2 separate regions of the Homo sapiens genome follow, and region 1 is linked to region 2. The links are contacts of gene promoters, found by promoter capture Hi-C in blood cells and fetal thymus (Javierre and others, 2016). All regions are on one chromosome and are shown on one strand. Each heading gives the region's core, a stretch centred on a gene start or on the middle of the fragment in contact. The rest is flanking DNA. Distances are from core to core; before and after follow the strand shown. Region 1 has its middle 7.1 kb from the start of RHEX. Region 2 holds the start of SLC26A9 (solute carrier family 26 member 9).

Region 1 (4,110 bases), core at 437-2,936, 100 kb before region 2:
AACCATAGCAGCTGTAACAAAAGGTAGGTGTATAATCAAAGCTAAAAAGATGTACAAAGAAAGGGCTATTGGATCAGAAAGGAGGAGCAGGTTGTTTCTAACTTTAGTGACGAGGGAAGACTACATGGAGGAGGTGGCATTTGTTGTGGTCACGGATGTGTAGGAAGGATTCCTATGGCAGTGCTGAGGCTGTGGATATACCAGATGGGAGGGTGCTTGTAGTGAAGGCATGGCAGTTGGAATATCCAGCCATTTTTCCTTCGATGAACATCTGAAATCACTGCTAAGAGAGGGAGCATTGTACACCTGAGGGTGAAAGGAAGGCTGTCACCTAGGATGCAGAAGGAGGGAGGAACAGAACCTGGGAAGACAGAGGGCACGAAAGACAGTTCATGAACTTCAAGAGCCCAGTGGACTGAGATCATGTCTGATTTCACTTATCTCCCCGGCTTCTAGGCCAGTGCCTGGAACACAGCAGCCCTCAATAAATGCTCATTGAATGAATGAGAAGTTGGACACACTCCCTTTGCTCTTTTTCAGGCTGGCCACAGATGTGCTGCCGTAACCGAGTGGAGCCATATACTCTCACCATTTCTAGGACTTTAAATGTTTTTCTGGTTGCTTTTGCAGAATTTCATTTCTCCAAATAGAAACCCTGCGTCCTCTTGAGGTTTATTACAGAGGTATTTATTGGTTGGGGTTGCTTTAAAGATCACCATCAGGTTTTCATTTTGCACAGCAGCTTATTTGCAAACGTCAAACAGGTGTCTTAACATTTGGCATCCTAAGAAAATTAAACTGTCAGCCTCTTGGGCTCCTACAAAAGAGCACCAGTGAACATGTGAAGCCAGAACTGTCCACAGGTGACTTAACAGGAACTGATCCCATATTACCATCCTTTACTGGCTCTGCACATATCCTTCATTCAATTTAAAAACATAATAAAAATTTTTTTTAAGCAAGCACATTTTACTTACTTATTTGTTTATTTAGACAAGAGTCTCACTCTGTCGCCCAGGCTGGAGTGCAGTGGCGTGATCTCGGCTCACTGCAACTTCTGCCTCTCGGGTTCAAGTGATTCTCCTGCCTCAGCCTCTCGAGTAGCTGGGATTACAGGCACCCACCACAATGTCCAGCTAATTTTTGTATTTTTAGTAGAGACGGGGTTTTACCATGTTGGCCAGGCTGGTCTCAAATTCCTGACCTCAAGTGATCCACCGGCCTCGGCCTCTCAAAGTGCTGGGATTACAAGCATGAGCCACCGCACCTGGCCGCAAGCACATTTTTAACAAGTGCAAAATGGAAACCTTATGCACATCTTACGATTTCGTTGACGACTCAGAACTGGGGATATCTCGTGTGACCTCCGGTCAGCAGTTTAAAGGATGAGGCATACTTATCCCCATTTGTAGCTGAGGTAACTGAGTGATAAGTGAATTGCTCCAGGTCACAGTTAGCAAACAACAAAACCAGCATCCAAACAGAGGTCTCAAAATCCCTTAAACTACCTTTCATTTACTACACAGATTGTTTCTATATCATCTTTATTAGCTGTAATAACCACATAAATTTTGGAGTAGCTAAGGACAGTTGTTCAGGTTGTTTATTGCTCAAGGGCATGACATCTAAAGAAACTATCCAACCTGTAATCCCAGCACTTTGGGAGGCCAAGGTGGGCAGATAATCTGAGGTTGGGAATTCAAGACTAGCCTGACCAACATGGAGAAACCCTGTCTCTACTAAAAATATAAAAAATTAGCCAGGCGTGGTGGGGCATGCCTGTAATCCCAGCTACTCAGGAGGCTGAGGCAGGAGAATCGCTTGAACCCGGGAGGTGAAGGTTGCAGCGAGCCAAGATCGCACCATTGGACCCCAGCCTGGGCAACAAGAGTGAAACTCCGTCTCAAAAAAAAAAAAAAAGAAAGACAGAAACTATGCACATCACAGACATCATTATGTTGAATTTTTTTCACTTTTTTATTTAACTGCTAACTCTAAAGGTAGATGACATATTCTTATTAAAATAGTTTTCTGACAAATAACAATAAAATGTCTTCTCTAACAAAGATCCTTTTTTATGACAATTTTCTTTCAGATGGAAATAGATTTTCTAACAGGGTTGACATTTACTTCATAAGCTGAAGCAGAGAGTGTTTGACAAAGACCTTATTGGTTTAAGTAACGAGTGCCACAATAACTAGTGCTTCCAAACAAGGAGTTGTTTTCCAACTCTTGTTTTGATTTTTATCTAATTTTTTTTTAAATCCTGTATTAGTATTTGTGTATTGGCTAAATTTGAAGTTTTGCATTACAGTTCATATTGTCTGCCTGAATGGTAGCTCTGAATTCCTAATTTAGATCTACGGATTTTTATTATTACATAACTCACTTTTGTGGTAATTAATGATCATAGGCAATTATATATTCATAAAATAATTATTTTATATTCATAAATTAGAGACTATTATATCATGAATTGTGAATTGTATCATAGCTATTGTTTATGGGTTGTTAAAGAAAATTTCTTCAGGAGAAAAGCTAACTGCTGGTAAAGTTTCATGGCTTATTATATATATTTTTTAAAGTTTTAAGTTCTAGGATAAACTACTATTATGTTTTAATTATGTATATAGATATATACACATATATATATATATATATTTTTTTTTGAGACAGAGTGTCGCTCTGATGCCCAGGCTGGAGTACAGTGGCATGGTCTCAGCTCACTGCAGCCTCCGCCTCCCGGGTTCCAGCTATTCTCCTGCCTCAGCCTCCTGAGTAGCTGGGATTACAAGCATGTGCCACCACGCCTGGCTAATTTTTGTATTTTTAGTAGAGATGGGGTTTCACCATGTTGGTCAGGCTGGTCTTGAACTCCTGGCCTCGTGATCCACCCGCCTCAGCCTCCCAAAGTGCTGGGATTACAGGCATGAGTCATCATGCCCGGCCTTAATAATATTTCTTTAACATTTAATAAGCTAATATAATATTATTTCTCCCAGGATACTGATAAGAAAAAAAAATCAAACTAAAACTAGAAGATGAAAAGCTGTCTAGATAGAAAGTAAAGTAAAACTATTTGGATTATTGAATAAATTTAGGGAGAAATAGAGAGTTTAGGGCTGTTTGTTTCAGTGAATGTGTCACAGAAATGTGAGATGTGAATTTACCTTTTAGTTCCATTGTCAGAAATAATCGATGAATCTAAAAAAAAGTAGCTTTAAAAATGCAAAGAATTCAAACACATGGCCAAGTAGTTTGAATAGGAAACAAAGATGTACTCTTGCTGAAAATTATTCACCTCAAGTAAAAAATTTTTTATCTTTACAAAAGATAATACAGGTTGGAAGTTTTTGGAAATATAATGGACACAAATTTTTTCCAAATGGTGAGGAGAAATAATAATGACTAGATTCTGATTATTTTATTATACTTCCAAGGACTCTGTATTTTGCCAGCTCTTTGAGAACAAAAAATCAGCTGGAAAATGGGAAAGAATGCAAAGATTGTACAGCACTTGGCACATTTTTTTGTAAACATGAAGAATCTGAAATAAACATCAATAGGAATGCTAAGTATTCAAATTTCAAATCTGATTAGAAATATATAATTATTAATGCTGCAAAACAGATTCTATATGATGAGGAAAATATTACATTGAACAAAAAAACTCAATTCTGTTTTGGCAAGACAATATCTAGCATTCAGAGGATCATCTACAAAAATGTATAAGCAGTATAATAACAGGAATTTTCTTCATTTACGAAAAGCATAGAAGCTTAATAGAATTTACAGCAGTATACAAATATATATTGTATGTTTCAAATATGCAATAATTTGTATATATACAATATATATTTGTTTATATAAACATATACTTGTATATTATTGTACAAATATTATATACTATATATAAACACCAAATATATACCAAATATTATATACTATATATAAATATTATATACTATATATAAACACCAAATAGCATTTACACATTATGTAGCAGATGAAAAGCAAAACCAAATGATTAAAATATAGCAGATTTGTTGACTGAAGTTATTTTGAATCTTGTAAGAAGTGCTAAATATCACACAGTTAAATAACTTGAGG
Region 2 (4,108 bases), core at 1,552-4,051:
GGCTCCTTTCTCTGTTTCTGAGTCTTTGTCTCCATCATTTTTCTCTGTGTTTCTATTTCTGTCACCTATCTCTCCATATCTTTGTGTTCCCTCCACCAACCCTAAATTTGTCCACACTTTAATTCTACCCAAGATACCCCTAAGATGCCTTTTCAGCCATCGGGGCACTCCCCCTTCTGTCTTCTGTTTCCCTAGCCTCTGATCTGGTTTCCTCCTTCCTGGGCCTCCCACCAATGACCAGCCCCAGATTCTGAGGCCCCTGTCCATCTTCCTTGGTGACTTCAGAGGAATCTCTGGGTTCGTCTATCCCTACTGCCCCTATAATGCAAGGGCTACCTGCCCAGAATTTTGCTGAGACAGTAGAAAAGTTTTGAGGAGGACAAACAACAAGTTTCCAATTCCAGCATGTATCCTGGAGGCCCCAGACGTCTTCATCCAGGTTACATTAGGAGTTATACCAGCAAGGGAGCCTAATGGTATCTAAAAGGTATGGTCTTTTGTAGGATCTCATCCTTAGCTTCGCAGGCTCAAAGGTTAAGATGATATCGTAGACTAAGCAGAGGATTTGAAGCCATTTTAGCCAAGTTAGATTCCTGCCTCTTCCATTCAGATCTTTGTGATCTTGGATAAGTGATTTCACTTCAGTCAACTCAGTTTTCTCATCAAAAAATGACAGTAACATGCCTATATGTTTGGTATAAGAATTAAACCAAATCACCTGTGGGAAAACCAAGTGTTACTGTGGAAACTAGGTCAGACTCAGGGGATACTAACTCACATTAATAAAACTCACACTGGACCAATGGGTAGCCCAGAATGTCCATGGGTCATTTAAAAGAGAAGCATGCCTGCAAAAGCAGCCCTAGTCGCTCCAACCAGCTGGGCAGTGCATTCTCTGCCCTAAAGGACATACAACCAGAAGATTCCCTGGTGGACATGGTGTCTCAGCAAGGGGACTTAGTTGTTTGATCTTGATAGCCACTGTCACCTGGCTATCGGAAGAACATAATGACTCATCTGCTTTCTAGGAATTTCCTGGGCAAAGTTTAGAACAGGTCAGGCTACCCATGACACTGGACAATACTGAAGATGCATGGACAAATTCTCGCCCTCTGGCTTTGCTTTGTTTAAAGACTCTATCATACAATTGTTCATTCATTCCTCAAATCTATATTGAGCTCCTCCTAAGTGCCGGGCACTGGGCTAGGTGGGTAGGGATACAAAAGAGGCACTGCCCCCTTGCCCTCCTCAGGGAGTTCACGGTGTTTGCAGAAAGACTGACAATTCCATACATAATTACCATTAATTGTGGTCAGTGTTATGAGAGTGAAGCAGAGGAAGCCAGAGGAACGAATGTGCAACATGTCAGCTAAGTCCACATAGGGGTCTGGGGAAGGGCTCCCCGAGGCAGTGTCCATGCACACATCCTTCCCTCAGCCAGGTGTCAGGGCACACTTGGGTCACTTGAATTCTGGCTCTCTTCAGCCAGTTGTCTGGCTACACCCTGACAACTCTGAGTGACCTCGGGTGTTTCCCTAGTCCCCACAAGCAATGCATCTACAAACTATCCCTTGGGTTGGGCTTGCAGACAATTCACTCTTTCATTCATTTAACAAATATTTATTGAGTCCCTATTAAGTACTGAAGCTAGCTCATTTCACCATGGGGAACTTTCGCCCCAACTTCCAGAGGTGCCTTACTGAAGCCCCCTGCACTGATTCCAGCCCACTTCAGAGCCTCTGGTTTCTTTTGGAGAGATGGGAGGACAGTTGAGGACGAGGACAGTGCAGCACTTGATGTCTCAAAGAATGGGCACCTGGTGTCGGGTAGTGACTCTCCCTCCCAGGAAGTAAATTAAGAAACTCCCCTACCCACCCTCCCAGCCCCTGTCCACAATTGCTTTCTGAGGTCCTTCCGTAGCACTCAATGGGCCTGGGATGGGCAGCTCTGCTGGCAGCAGCCGGAGCAGTGCCATGACCCAGGGAGACATTAATTCCTAGAAGCGGCAGAGGGCTGTGACTGGAGATTTGCTAGCCTTCAGGTCGCCTCTCATATAATTGTTCTAAGTCCAGTTTCTTGAGCTCTTTTATCAGATTCTAAACCCCTGTGTTCTCTTTGCACACTACCTGAGGGGCCAGGAATAATTTCCCCCATTGCACTGATGGATAGACCAAGGCACAGAGCTCACAAGCAACTTAACATTGGGGACAGAACTGGGAACCAGGTCTCCACCACAAACCAAAACCGCCTAAAGGCTCCCAGGGCCTCCCAGACATGGTTCTTCCCCTTCCTCAGGGGTGTTCAGAGGACTACTGTCTTCCCACCCCCTAGATCTCCAATCTTCAAAGCAAGCATCCCCAAGAGCACACCCCTCAGGTGGCCTCAATAGCTCCCATTGTCCAAGAGGCTCTTTGGCCTGACCCCCAGCCCCATAAGCAGCAGGACAGCAAGCTCAGAGGAGCTTGTCCTGCCTTGTCCCCCTCCTCTGCCTCGTCCCCCTCCTCCAGGGCCGCCTTGGGGGAGCCGGTGGGGCAGGAGCCCCGCTGAATGTGACCTATTGTCTTCGGGGTGGATTTAGGAAGTGCCAAGCTCCCATCACACAGCCCTGCTCCCCAGGTAAAACAAAAAAAGGGCTGTTCATTTGGGACCTTTTCCCCCTTATCTCCTTTTCCTATCTCCTCAGGCTTAGCTATGGTGTAGTGTTCAAAACCACTTCCCCTCTGAGCCAATCAGAAGCCGGGGCTCACCCCGTGGCCCTGAGGAAAAGTTATTTATAAACGCCTCCCTGGATTATTTGAGCAGAGCCCTTTCACACACCTCAGGAACACCTTTCGGCTGCCCGCTCCCCAGACACACCTGCAGCCCTGCCCAGCCGGCTTTGCTCACCCACTGGTAAGCCCCACCCAGCCCAGCCCACCCCACTGGGCTGGGGTCATCCCTGCAAGAGGGCAGTCACCAGGGGTACCGAGAGGAGGGATGACAGGAACCAACTGCCAAGCTGAGCACAAGTAGGAAGGACACTCTGGCCCCTGGAGTCTGAGAGCAGCCTCCCAGCCCTTCCCCTCTGAGGAGCCCTTTGGGTCTTCACGTCTATGTAAGGACCTGGGCTGCAAGGCTGGGCTTGACTGAGGGAGCAAGTAGGGTGAGGGTGTGGTGGTCGCCAGACCCCGAAACAGAGCGAGGCAAAGGCCTCCGAGGGAAAGGAAAATGTTAGACCTTCCTCCGCGACAGCCTTTGAAGCTGTGGGCTGCTCCTCTCCCTTTCTTTTCAAGTCTTGGAGGGAAAAGCTCTTAATGCTTGACTCACCAGCCTACTCTGCATGGCTGTCTCCCCCTCCTTCTACCGCCCAGACATCCTCCTTCACTCATGTACTTCTCCACCAGCTCGGGGAACTTAGCATGGACTACACAGAATCCCATGTGTCCCCATTAGTCCTGAGAAGTTGGAAGAGGTGGAGGGGGAGGAAACTGAGGAGTGGGAGAGGGTGAGCAAGGGACCAGCTCCATCAGGCAGGCGGGTGGGCGGTAGCTGGACCTGGGACGCCCGACTCAATGGTGAATGCTTCAACACAGAAGGGCTTGGGCCAGGACAGTGGATGGGCAGCCAGCTCTCCAGGCTCTCAGCCTCCAAACCCCTCATCCTGCAGCTCCAAGGGGTTCCAAGCCACTCTCAGGCAGTGCCCCCATTCCTCAAAACCAGCCCAGAGGGTCCCCAGCTGAGACCTAACAAAGCTTCTATTATTCCAGCATCAACTGCCCCCTTACACTTGGCCCCACGGGTCTGAGGACCAGAAGACCCTGGAGTGACGCAGCCCCCCAAGTGGGCAGACTGAGAGAGGGCTTTCCCCCTGAGTGGCTTCACTCATGCAGATGACCCTTTCTCAGAACCCCACAGTCCTCCCCCACCTCCCTCATCCTGGCCCTGGCATCCAGAACCTGGCAAGACCCTGCTTGGGCAGCATGGAGACCAGCATGGCCAAGAGCACCTCCACTGCCAGGAAGGCCTTCCCAGGCACTTCCCAGAGCTAGCCACCTGCTCTCTGAGTCTCATTTGTATAAACCCTGGGGCAGAGACGGACTCCTCTTTATCTTTTAATGCCCAGAGTCTT

What was found. Contacts are between HindIII fragments. The CHiCAGO score rates a contact against its expected background, and 5 or more counts as called.
Region 1: a fragment that was not itself captured here is called in contact with the fragment with the promoter of SLC26A9 in region 2 in 5 of 17 cell types (neutrophils, M2 macrophages, non-activated CD4 T cells and 2 more); the score reaches 9.2 in neutrophils.

Annotation. Positions count from the first base shown.
Region 1 is chr1:206,044,049-206,048,158 of GRCh38, reverse strand. No RefSeq gene overlaps it. Among named protein-coding and RNA genes, the nearest start is that of RHEX, 7.1 kb to the left of the region's middle. RefSeq lists an enhancer at 407-576. The HindIII fragment of the contact is 4,180 bases long and covers 1-3,776 here.
Region 2 is chr1:205,942,149-205,946,256 of GRCh38, reverse strand. It overlaps SLC26A9 (solute carrier family 26 member 9), which reads left to right and starts at 2,801. Exons shown (of 21, transcript NM_052934.4): 1 at 2,801-2,892. The region is part of intron 2 of SLC26A9-AS1 (SLC26A9 and RAB7B antisense RNA 1); the gene reads right to left. The HindIII fragment of the contact is 4,358 bases long and covers 1-3,733 here.